Regions from separate parts of the Homo sapiens genome. Here region 1 is linked to region 2. The links are contacts of gene promoters, found by promoter capture Hi-C in blood cells and fetal thymus (Javierre and others, 2016). All regions are on one chromosome and are shown on one strand. The core of a region is centred on a gene start or on the middle of the fragment in contact, and the rest is flanking DNA. Distances in the headings are between cores, read along the strand shown. Region 1 overlaps TSPEAR (thrombospondin type laminin G domain and EAR repeats). Region 2 holds the start of KRTAP12-1 (keratin associated protein 12-1).

What was found. Contacts are between HindIII fragments. The CHiCAGO score rates a contact against its expected background, and 5 or more counts as called.
Region 1: a fragment that was not itself captured here is called in contact with the fragment with the promoter of KRTAP12-1 in region 2 in 1 of 17 cell types (total CD8 T cells); the score reaches 6.1 in total CD8 T cells.

Annotation. Positions count from the first base shown.
Region 1 is chr21:44,491,967-44,498,555 of GRCh38, reverse strand. It overlaps TSPEAR (thrombospondin type laminin G domain and EAR repeats), which reads left to right. Exons shown (of 12, transcript NM_144991.3): 12 at 1-663. Among named protein-coding and RNA genes, the nearest start is that of LINC02575, 9.7 kb to the right of the region's middle. RefSeq lists enhancers at 5,206-6,405, 5,932-6,432, 6,433-6,589. The HindIII fragment of the contact is 1,170 bases long and covers 2,496-3,665 here.
Region 2 is chr21:44,679,201-44,685,472 of GRCh38, reverse strand. It overlaps KRTAP12-1 (keratin associated protein 12-1), which reads left to right and starts at 3,310. Exons shown (of 1, transcript NM_181686.2): 1 at 3,310-3,897. The coding sequence starts at 3,350. The coding sequence ends at 3,640. The region is part of intron 1 of TSPEAR (thrombospondin type laminin G domain and EAR repeats); the gene reads left to right. The HindIII fragment of the contact is 12,382 bases long and covers 1-6,272 here.

The sequences.
Region 1 (6,589 bases), core at 1,831-4,330, 190 kb after region 2:
TGGCAAATAATAAACTCAGTGTCTACTTTTGCCGGCTTTGGGACCTTCGTGTTTTTCCGGGGCTCAGGTCTCACTCCAGCCATCGCTGTGGCCAGTGGAGAGCCACTCCCCTCTGGGGGCAGTCGCCGAGAGCCTCCTTCCCCTCCGTCCAGCCAGCAAGGCTTTCCCAAGCGTCCTGGGCAGGAGGGTTGGGCCCTGCTTTCCACCAAGTCACTCAGAAGGTCCCAATCACACATGATTGGCCTCATTGGGTCAGCACCTGTGAAAGGAAGATTAAAAACTCGACACCCCAATTCACTCAACCAAGAAGAAAAAAGCTGAAAGCTGAGTCCTGCAGGAAGCTGCCTTTCCCTTTGCCCTAAGCAGACAGCTGCAGATGAGAGGGTCAGCATCTCCACTAGTGGCTGCTCTGTGTGCCCCTTATCTCATGGAAAGTGCCAATTTACTGAGCACGAGATAAACAGGTAACTGACTGTTCCCACCTGCTCCTTTTCTCCTGCAGCATGGAGCAATCAGTCATGTGACCACACCCTCCTCCCTCTGCCCCCTCCAGCCGGCTTTTCCCCTTGACTGAAGCCTTCAACATCATCTTGGGAGAGAGGCACAGACCTGTCTCCTGGGTGCATCCTTAGCCTTGGCAAAATAAACTTCTCCATTGATCGAGGCCTGGGTCGGGTACTTTTTTGGTTTGCAGACTCACCCACATGCTTTTCCAGTTGGGCCTTGCTCTTCTCTTGTTTGAGTAATTTGTTTCTGTTCATGTGAGGCTGACGGTGTCGCAACTGTTCCAACTCCCATCTCTCAGCCAGATCCCTTCATTCCCCAAACTGTTCTAGATCTGGACTTATTTTGGAAATCAGAGCCTGGCTTGAGTGGCTGAAAATCTAAGAACTTCTGGGTAAAGTTACCACTCAGTGTTTGGAGCACAAAACTGAAAGTGTCTGAGCCAGGTCTCAGTCAGCTTAGAGGGTTATGATGCCAAGGTTGAGAATCTGCCCAGGAAAAAGTGGCACCAGTCACAGCAGGACCTGTGGCCAGGCCTTTTCCAGAGAGCATTTTGAGGTGCTGAGTATTTAAAAGAGGAGGAGAGGAGAGGGCAGGGGGAAGGGGGAGAGAGAAGACGGTGGGTGGGCAATGAGGCCAGTGGTCAGGCTCCTGGGAGGCTTTAATTAGCACGCACTGAGTGCACGTTGCAAGTGAAAGGGGGAGGTGGGGGAACAGCCCTTTAGGCACTCACCTGGCACTCAGCAAACCTGCATCTGACGTCAGATAGAGTAGACACAGAAAAGAAGAAAAAGCCAAGCCTGTGTTTTTCTCGAGTGTTTAACCAGAAGTCACGGCTGGAGACACAAAAGCACCTCCTGGCCTATGCAATTTTGTTCCTTTACTGCTTTAAACAAGCAAGATGTGGTTTTATTCCTTTAGTAGCTGGTGGTGTTGGCTCTGTGTCCCTGAACAAAAATAAAAGCAAGCCCTAGTCTTTTGTCCCACACTCGCGAGGATCAGCTGCTCATCGACACTGTCAGAGTGTGGGAGGCCTCCCGGGGAGATACATGGCCGGCCGTCTTGCAAGCTCTCTGTTCAGAAACAGACTGGTTCTCCTGAGAGGCAGGTTTTGCGTGACGCCATTTCCAAGCTTTCCCTTTCCCTTTGGAACAGTGAGTTTGGCATCTCAGGATTCTGTTTGCCTTTCACAGGAGGGAGAAGCTCCAGACGTGGGCTCGCCGCTGTCCTTCCATGCCCCCTCTTGGATGGAATCAGTGGGCCCTGGGGCCCCGCCCACCTCCCCAGTCTTCCCCTGGGGTTGAGAAGAGCACTTTTCTGTCTTGTTAGCCACGATTTCAAGCCAACGTTGCAAAAGCTCTGATTTCCTGGATCGTGGGGAAGCCCGTCTGGGCGCCCCAGCAGCACGTAGTTCAAACACCTCTCCTGGCACCGGGGAGCGGTTCCAGCGTGCCCTTCTGAGAACCTTCTTCAACTGCACTTGCAGTCAGTGTGTTTTCTCTTGTGTAATTGGAATCAGGACCTTTTGAATCCTACCTGCAAATTTATGCAAACAATATGCAAAAACTTGTGACAAAAATTGGCAAAGGAAGACCTTTTGCGGGTGAAGCACAACTGTCACCTAATGGCTCTCAGGGGTGGTTGGGGCGGTGGCGCAGGTGAGAACTGACGTTTGGTCGGGGTCTGTAGCGGTGGTGGGAGGTGTTGGGGTCTTCCTCCTCCCCTGCCCCGCAGTGTGGGAGTAGCCAGTGAAAGTGCAGAGTTGGGGGCTCCCTGTCTCTTCTTCACTGTGGAGGCATCTTCAGAGCTGGGGAGAGGGCGGGATCCCTTAGCCTCCCTTCAGGCTGTTCCTGATGCCACATCTGGTGCTGAGAATGAGTCTGAGAAGCCTCCAGGCCCCCGACCTCCCTATGCCGTCACACCCACATCAAACTATCCTGTGTTAGCATTAACTTCACATTATTGTAATTGTCCCCCTGGGAGGTTAAGCTTTGTGGAGCTTTTCTGTGATCCCTCTCTATCATGGAACCATCGAAACTCTACATCTTAACATCGGAAGGTTCTTTCACGATCATCTGGTCCAATCCCTTTGCTTTCCGCAGAAGGGGACCAACACACAAAGAAGCAGCTGACCCTGGTTCAGCCCTAAACCGGAGCCCTAAATCAGTCACCACCTCTCCAGCTGACACTACTCACTGGATGGAAGGCCTCACAATCTGGGTGCCACTTGAGATATGGTGGGAGCAGAAAATAGTTGTGTTATTTTAAAGGGTCAAGAGTGACTTTGTAAATCCACACCCCTGTCATTCCTAGAAAGCTATGTGGCTTATGGACAGCACCAGCTTCTTACTGTGCTTTTCAAACAGCTGGGCAGTTGGGCAGGACACACTGATTGCTCTTAGACTTGTAAATAACCTCTGGGCTGTCCAGAGCTGTCCCGAACTGTCCCGAGTTCTATCCTGTGGCTGTTTGTAGGCAATGATGAAATTGGGTTGTGGGGAGGAAGAGAAAGAAGAGAGTGGCGGAATGGGCTGTGGGGCCGATGAGATCAACATTTATTGGGCACTATTTCTGACGTTATGCTGAGTGTCACCCAACATTTGCCCCATTTTACAGTTTGAGGAAACTAAGGTTCAGAGAGGTTAAGTAATTTGCCCAAAGTCTCACAGCTAATAAGGAAGAAGACTGAGGTTTCACACTTGAGACTTTCTGATCTCAGAGCCCAAGCTCGTCACCACCATGCTCATGGGGCAACGGTGGGGAGAGAGCCAGGTTTCCAGGAAACCTCTCAATGGCCGTGCAAAAGTTGACCCTCTTACTTCCCGCCGCTTGGATGAGCGGCCTCGATGGTGGAAGAGGGGCCAGCAGAAGAGCAGGGCCATTTCCTGCGTTGGTCAGGATACGCCTCATCTTGCCCACGTCTTCCTGGGGCTGACACATGGGAATTTTTCCAGCAGGCCTGGCCCGAGGGCGCTGGGGCTTTACTTTTGTGCTGGTGCAGGCGGTTCTCAGGCTCAGATAAAATTTCCTTTAGCTGTTTATCCTCCCAACAAGCATTTTGCAAACACCTCTTCTGTCAGTTCTTGAACCACTAAGCATGGTCCCCGACCCAACAAATGGAGCTCCGATTCGGAGATGCAAAACCTGATTCCAGCAAAGCTTCTTGCAGCTTCTCTGGGGCAGTTTTCACAGCTCTTTATCTTCTCCACTTCTCTATTGTTGCTTTACCAACAGGGGCCTCTGCCACCAAGGAGTGGGGAAGACATGCAAAAGGGGCTGTGCGGCACTTGGGCTAAAGATTTTGGGAAGGATGTGGAAGCCGGGGCTAACCAGAGGTTTCGGCGTGACCTGCGAATCTTCCCCTCTCCCCCATCCCTGCGGTGTCGTTTCATCAGACACCGAAGCTGGGCTCATGAGCTAAGGGCCGCAGTTCACTTAAAATTCCGTCCCAGGCCAGGTGCGGTGGCTCACGCCTGTAATCCCCACAATTTGGGAGGCCGAAGCAGAGGATCACGAGGTCAGGAGTTCGAGACCAGCCTGGCCAACACGGTGAAACCCTCTATTAATACAAAAATTAGCCAGGCTTGGTGGTGCACGTCTGTAATCCCAGCTTCTTGGGAGGCTGAGGCAGAAGAGTTGCTTGAACCCAGGAGGTTGAGGCTGCAGTGAGTCGAGATCATGCCATTGCACTCCAGCCTGGATGACGGAGGAAGACCCTGTCTCAAAAAAAAAAAAAAAAAAAAAAAATCCATCCCAGCATCCTCAGCTGGAATAACTGCCAGTTGCCACTGGCTGCCCCAACGGAATTAACAGACGCTGCCACCAGCCCTCCTGACCTCATTGGACAAAGCTGCATCCTCAGCAGGCTGTCTCCATCCTGAGATGGAGTGGGAAGTCCTCTCATGCGGAGTCTGAGCTTCAGACAGGGAAGGATGGGGGCCCTTCCTGTATTCCCATCAGTGTTCACCTAAAAGGAAGAGGCTGAGGCATGAAGTCTAACTTAAAGAGTTGACTTGAGCCAGGGTGAGGACAGCAGCCCAGAAGACTCACACCCACGTACGCCTGGCTGTGAGCTTCCCGGCCATGAGCTTGCTTTCTTTGGCCTTCATTATAGGCAGGTTTTTAAGGCAAAAGAGGGTGACATGGAGCAGGCCGACACAAAGCTGCTTGTCGGGAGTCTCGCTGGCTCACAGAAATAACACTGCTAAGCTACGTGGTGCAGGTTGCAGCATCCGGTGGGCATGATTTGTTAGTTAGTGGCTCCTCATGGTCATCGCACGCAGCTCCTGAAGATGAACACACAGCTCAGAGGGAGAAGGACAGGACTCCTGTCCCCTCTCCACATCTCTCTGTGCCCGATCATGTAAAAGGACTTGTGTTCCTCACAGAACAGTTCTTTTCTCATCAGGAACTCCATTTTCTGCTTTCTTTGTCAGGATGGGGTCCCCTGGAGAGCTGCTTAGAGGGGCAGGAGAATCCCAGGAGGGAAACCTAAAGCATTTGGGCAGGGGCAGCAGCCACACCTATAACCAGCCTTACAGAGCAGGTCACTGGGGCTGAGAGTGGGAGAAGCCAGTTTCAGTCTCACATGGGTATTCTCCAGACAGACCTGGCAGGTCCTGTCCCCAGAGATCAGGGGTTGTAACTGCAGGCAGACAGAAAAGCCATGGAAAGCATTCATCCCTGCAAGAGCTCAGGGCTCACCCTTGGGAGATGCTGAGCAGCAGAAGTGCCTGGAAAATGTGTGTTGAAAGGGTGAAATGAGCAGAGGGTTCCGGGTTTGGCTCTGGTAGAATCAGAGGATGATCTGGGAGGGAGACATAGACCCAAATGGTAACAGGTGCGGGAAGTGAGACTTGAAATCTGAAACATGACATGACCCTGAGAATTTCATTCTAGTGCCTGGCTTCAGGCATAGGGTTGTGGCTGATGGGTGGATGTGTACACACACAGGCAGACACATTTACTGTTGGGAACGGGTGCTCGGTGTTGCAGAAATCAACACTGAGACAAAGGATCTCTCAGCAAGGCTAGTTTACTTTCTGCAGAAAGGGTGCCGCTCGCTAGCAGTCTTGCCACAAGAGCACACACAAAAAAAGACAGGGTCATTTATAACCTGACGCAGCTACCCTACTGCTGTGCCCAGTTTCTATCGGCTGGAATGGGACCTTACATTCTGTTTGTCTCGATTGGCTAGCAACTTAGAACTTCCCAAAAGAGGCAAAGGCAGAGGAGAACAAAGGAAGAGAGGAAGTAACTTGTGGAATGCTGAGAGAGGCAAAAACACTTCCAAATAAGGAAGAGGAAGAGGCTATGACCTAATTCTTGCTTGGACTGGTTCAGGCATGCCAGGGCAAATACCTAGACTAAAATGTGGGAGCTAAGAACAGAGTATATTGATTTCTTTATTACAGCTAGCAGAATTTAAGAATATTAACACAGGTCTTTGAGTAAACTTTGCTTCTAGAAGAGGTTACTATCTATTCTGAATTAGACTGGGAGGAAAGTCCCTTTGAAGAGGAACCTCTATTTCATTTCTACATGTACCTTCTGTCTTGGACTTTGGGAAGATGTTCTCTGGGCTGAAGACTGTCTGCTAGGTGAAAATATCAGGGAAGGTGATCGTTGCTTTTTCTGCCTATCGCCAGGAAGTTGGACTTTCATAAAACTCTAGTGCAGGTTCGCCGCAGCCTGGAGGGACAAGCACTGGGTTTCATTTTACTCAGCCCTGCCAAACTGTGTGCTCTAGGACGAGCCATTCAACTCTTTCAGCTGTGCTATAGGAAGAATCAACACCCATCTTGCAGGACTCATTTAGGGATTAAGAGGGAGAATCACCAGGAAAAGGAGATGTAATCTGTAAAGGGCTGTCACCCCCTTGTGATGGTGACACTGATGTGGTTAACCCCGGGACGGTGGGTCGCATCCTTGCCTAGAGCAGTGGTGTGTACAGGGTCATCCTTCACAGTGAGGAGAGGTACCGACGTCGTCTGATGCTTGACACAACCCGACCCACACACATTATGCACAGATAGCAACACTGAGGGTCTCGGTGACAAATGAGTGGAAGGAACATATGGGGGTG
Region 2 (6,272 bases), core at 2,061-4,560:
TCGCTGTGGGTCTGGTCAGTCTCACCCCTGCAGAGGCAGCTTGGGGGAAAGTGAGGAGCTGGTGTGAAATTCCAGGATGCCCCTGAACTTGGGAAGCAGCGGGCAGGAGTGTGGATGGCACGCTCCTCCTCACACTCCAGCTCTGTTCTCTCGATGGATTGGCCACAGCGCTTTATTCTACGGTGGTGTCACACAGTAGGGGTATGAGCCATCTCTCACGGCAGAGCTACTCCCTCCATCCCAGGCAGCTCCCAGGGGCACCCTCTGCTCCTGTGTGGGTCCTCCTGTGCCTGCTGGTGGTGGATATGGGTGATTCCTGCCAAGAAGCCTTCAGACAAGTCAGACACCATGTTAATGAAATCCCCTCCAAGGCTGAAGACCAAGTGGGGTCTCAGAGCTGTGGACAGAACTTAGAAGTCTATGGACCCAGAGCCGATCTGTGGCCATGTGAGAGTGACCTTAAGGCCTAGGGACAAGCCGGGCGAGGCCACAAGTTCAGCCCTGTCACAGGCAACTCCTTTCACTGCTATAGTTCAGAATCACACTTAAAAACCAAGAGAATTGGGGCAGCCACAGTGATCACATGTTCCTATGTGACCTAGTCACCAAGTAATCCATTTTAAAGGTTAGCTGTCTTACAAGTTGACTACAGAAGAATGAGGATGCATCTTTGATATTTACCTGCTCCTTTACCTTCCCCCATCTCCTTCCTGTAGGTCAGGGCCCACCTGGCCTCGTCCTAGTCAACCTAAAGCACATCCGTGCACGTTGCCTGGCCCTTACTCCTTCCTGCAGGTCAGGGCCCACCTGGCCTCGTCCTAGTCAACCTAAAGCACATCTGTCCACGTTGCCTGCAGCGCACATCTGCAGGGGAGGATTTCTCCCAGCTTTTGTTCCTCTGAACAGATTTTCACTTCAATCTCAGTTTCTGGGGTTTTTTGAGACCCTTCTTGCTTGGTCACCCAGGCTGAAGTGTGATGGTGCAGTCATAGCTCACTGCAGCTTCGAACTCCTGGGCTCAAGCTATCCTCCTGCCTCATCCTCCTGAATAGTTGGGACTACAGGTGCACACCGCCACCCCTAGCTAATTTTTAAATTTTCTGTAGAGATGTGCTCTTGCTTGTTGCCTAGGCTGGTCTACAACTCTTGGGCTCAAGTGATCCTCTTGCCTCAGCCTTCAAAGTGCTGGGATTAGAGGTGTGAACCACAGTGCCCGGCCCGGCCTCAGTCTCAGTCTTTAAGCACGTTCTTCATAGATGTAGACTTCCGGATTGCCAGTTATTGTTGCTCAGCATTTTAAAGATGTGTCTCCACTGTTTCTCATGAGAAGCCAGGGCGTTTTTCTTATCCTTGTTCCTTTGTATGTAAAGTGTCTTCCTGTCACTGCTTTTGAGATTTTGTCTTCATTTTTGGTTTTCATCACTTCATGATGTGCCTGGATGTGGTTTTCTTCCTATTTATCCTACTGGGGGCTTTCTGAGATTCCTGGATTTGGACGTTGTTGATTTTTGAAGTCAAATTTGGTGTATTTAAAATTTCTAACTACTGTACTTTTCAGTTCTAGGATTCCCATTTTAAAAAATAGCTTCAATTACTCTACTGAGATTCCCTATTTATCCATTCATGAAGACAATGTTTTCCTTTAATTATTTGAACAGTTTTCTTGGATTTTTTGGAAGATGTCTATAATAGCTGCTTACAGTCATCATTTGCCATGTCCAATATCTAGACCATATCAGGTTTATTTTTTTTAACAGTGAATTAAATTTACCTATATCTTTTAATATCTGATGATTTGTTTTTTGAGACGGGGTCTTGCTCTGTTGCCCTGGCTGGAATGCAGTGGTGTGATCATAACTCATGGCATCCTCAACCTCCCAGGCTCAATAGACCCTCCTGCCTCAACCTACCGTGTAGCTGGGACCACAAGCATGCACCACCATGTCTGGCTAATTTTTAACCATTTTTTTGTAGAGACAGAGTCTCACTATGTTGCCCAGGCTGGTCTGAAACTCCTAGCCTCAAGCAATCTTCCCATCTTGGTCTCCCAAAGTGCTGGGATTACAGGCATAAACAACCGTGCCTGGTCAATATCTGATGATTTTGATTGTGTATGAGGTATCATAATAATGCATTTACAGACTCTGAGCTGTATCATGTTTCTGATTTTTGTTCTAGCCGTCAGTTACTGGAGAATGACCTTAATCTTGTGCAGTTTTTGTTCAACACTTTGCTAGGGTGGATCTCTGGGAAGCATCTACAACTTGGAACACTCTGTATCTTGGTGGGACTCACATTCCAAACTGTCTTCCCTAAAAATCCTATTCTGAATTGGTTTAGGCTTTGTTCGGGCTGGCCTAGGCGGGTCTCACTGTAGTCTGTGGTCCTTACTCATTTGGTGCCGGGCTGTAGGGGGTCTCGGCTGGATGTCGACGTGGGGACTGGAGGGGGGCTTCACTCTCAATCCTCTAGCAGCTTCTCTCTGGTGAGCCTGTGGTTGCCTTGCCCTGGGAATGCACAGCCCTGCCCCGTTCCACAGATTCACAGTCAGCTTCCACAGTGTGGGGCCTGCTCTCCACACGGATCCTTCTTTCCGCTTCTCTGCTCCTCGGACTCCAGGGCTTCAGCTGCTTGAGCGCTGGCCCCTTCCTCCTCGGCAGAGTTGGGTCACTGTATTCTGCTCTGACTCCGGCTGGTGACACTGCATTTTGGAAGGTGACACTGCATTTTGGAAGCCTGCCCCAGCAGAGAGCTGGGAAATGGGAGTTTATCTCCTAAGTTTCTTCTCTCTCAGGAAGCACAGTCTGCACTGCTGGTTGACGGCTGCCTGAAAACGAGCATCTCCTAAATCTCAACTGTATAGTTGATAGAGTAGCCAGCTTTGCATCACTCACTCCAGCAGGTTCCCCAGTATGATTTCATTGTCTATATTCAGTTCTGGTCTCTTCCCCAAAGTTTCTGGTTGATGCAACAGAAGTTGCGGTTCGAGGAGCTCTTTTGGGTACCACTCATGTCTGCTTCAGCGTAGAACTAACGAAGGGAGGCAGATATCAGGCAGGTGGAGCTAAAACTGCCTGTGCATCACTGATAAATTTGGGCAGGTTTCCAAATGTAACAAGAGCTTGAAGAGGGTGCAATTAGTCACGAAACAAAGGGCCAGATAAAAAACATCATCTACGACAGAAAACTGAGTTCCAGGAAACAGCCTTGAGGAAGAAAAACAAGGAAGACAACAGGTGTGTGCTTCTGTGCTGTGGGGATGCCTGGGTCCAGGTATAAAGGCTACCCAGGGAGGCCATCCCCAGACATCACTGCCCTCTGCCTCGACCTTATCCAGCCACACGCCACCATGTGCCACACCAGCTGCTCCTCGGGCTGCCAGCCAGCCTGCTGCGCGCCCAGCCCCTGCCAGGCATCCTGTTACATCCCCGTGGGCTGCCAGTCCTCCGTGTGCGTGCCCGTGAGCTTCAAGCCAGCCGTGTGTGTGCCCGTGAGATGCCAGTCCTCTGTGTGCGTGCCCGTGAGCTGCAGGCCCGTCGTGTATGCGGCTCCCTCCTGCCAGTCCTCTGGGTGCTGCCAGCCTTCCTGCACCAGCGTCCTCTGCAGACCCATCTCCTGCAGCACCCCTTCCTGCTGCTGAGCATGAATCTCCAGACCCGCTGCTCCCAGTGCAGATGAGGCCACACCTGTACACTCCCTGGATGAGTCCTCAGTTGGTCTTCTGCACATGGTGCAGGTGAAAAGCATGCTCAGTGAACCCTCTGAATTCTGGATCGAGAATATAATAGAATGATCTGGAGCCCTGGCTGAACTTGCCTATCCCCCCAGGGAAGTCTGGGGTCCCAGAGTCATTCTCTGACCCCATGAGAGTCAAATAAACCAGCTTTCCCCATGCAACTCTGCGTTTCTTGTCTCTCTTTTTTATTTCTATACTCCCCGCTATCTATTCTGCTGATTACATAGAATTTGCTGCTAAACCCTCTTCAGTGATCCCTTCACCCAGTGCTCATCAGAAGGTGGTGTCCCGGGTGGAGGGCGCGGCTGCAGATGCCCATGTGGTCTCTCCCAGGGCTCCTGGGGCCCAGCTGCAGTGGCCACAGCGGTGACTTACCCGCCTGTGGTGGAGTGGCCTCGCTTCCCCACTGGCTGTCCACTCCTGCTCCAGGCCAGCAAGCCCTGCATTGATGGCCAAAGCCTCAGAGCACTGAGGATCGGGCTTTCCCATGTGGTTGGTGGATGTCCTGCTTCCCGGGTCGCGGAGGATCTCAGGTTTACAGAACTGGATTAGTTCTGCAGCACACACTCCCATCACTGATCTACATATGGCACTTTTTAAAAATTGATACATAATATGTTTACATATTTATGGGGCATATGAAATACTTTACACACAGAGGATACGTAATGATGAAATCAGGATATTCATCACCTTGTCTATCATTTCTCTGTGTTGAGGACATTTTACACTCTCTCTTCTAGCTGATTTGAGACATACAATACATTGTTAACTGTAGTCACCCTATGCTGCTATCAAATATTAGAACTTATTCTTTCTGTGTAACTGTATGTTTGTACCCATTAACCAAACTCACTTCTCCTCTAACACACACCGTTCTTCACCTCTGGTAATATCATTCTACTCTCTACTTCCATGAGATCAACTTTGTGAACTCCCACATGTGAGTGAGAACATGTAATATTTGTCTTTAATGACCTTCGGTTCCATCCATGTTGCTGCAAATGGCAGGACTTCATTCTTTTTTATGGCCGAATAAGATTCCATTGTAAATATATACCACAGTTTCTTGATTCATTTATTTATTGATAGACATTTAGGTTGAATCTGTATCTTGGCTATTGTGAATAGTGCTGCAATAAACATGGGGGTGCAGGTATCTTTTTGATACACCAATTCCCTATCCTTTGAATAAATAGTAGCAGGATTGCTGGATAGTATGGTAGTTTTATTTTAGTTTTCTGAGAAATCTGTATACCGTTTTTGATAATGGCTGTACTAATTTACACTTCCACAAATGATGTATAAGAGTTCCCTTTTCTCCACATCTTTACCAGCATCTGTTATTTTTTGTCTTTTTGATAATAGCCATTCTAATTGGGGTAAGATGATGCTATCTCATTGTAGTTTTGATCTGAAGTTCCCTGATGATTAGTGATGTTGAGTTTTTTTTAATATACCTGTTGGCCATTTGTATGTCTTCTTTTGAGAGATGCCTATTCAGGTGCTTTGCCCATTTATTAATGGAATTATTTGTTTTGTTGTTGTTGTTGAGTTGTTTGAGTTCCTTACATATTCTGGATATTAGTCACTTGTCAGATGCATAGTTTACAAATATTTTCTCCCATTACACAGGTTGTCTCTTCACTCTGTTGATTGTTCCGTTTGCTGTGCAGAGCTTTTCAGTTTAATATAATCTCATTTGTCTATTTTGGTTTTTGTTGCCTGTGTTTTTGTAGTCTTAGCCATAAACTGTTTGCCTAGACCAATGTCCTGGAGCATTTCATTTATGTTTTCTTCTAGTAGCTTTATGGTTTTCGGTCTTATGTTTAAGGCTTTGATACATCTTGAGTTGATTTCTGTATATGATGAGAGGTAGGGATCCAGTTTCATTCTTCTGCATGTGGCTATCCAGTTTTCCCAGCACCATTTATTGAAGGGGTGTCCTTTCTCTATTGTATGTTCTTGGCACCTTTGTTGAAAATCAATTGGCTGTAAATATATGGATTTATTTCTGGGTTCTCTATTCTGTTCCATTGATCTATGTGTCTGGTTTTATACCAATACTATGCTGTTTAGCCTTGTAATATATTTTGAAGTCAAGCGGTGTGATACCTACAGGTTTGTTCTTTTTGTTCAGGATAACTTTGGCTATTCAGGGTCCTTTTTGGTTCCATATGAATTTTAGGACTGTTTTTTCTACTTCTGTGAAACATGTCATTGGCATTTTGATAGAGATTGCATTGAGTCTGTTGATTGCTTTGGATAGTATGATCTTTCTAACAATATCATTTCTTCTGATCCATGAACATGGAATGTCTTTCCATTTGTTTGTGTCTTCTTCAATTTATTTTATCAGTGTTTTGTAGTTTTCTTTGCAGAGGTCTTTCACATCCTTGGTTATATTTATTGCCAGGTATTTTATTTTTAAAATAGCTATTGTGAATGAGATTGTGTTCCATGGGCAGGTCTATGCAAACCTACCCCCAAAGTTCAAGGAAGCTGAGAGGCCACAGAAAGAGGCTGACAAATCCAG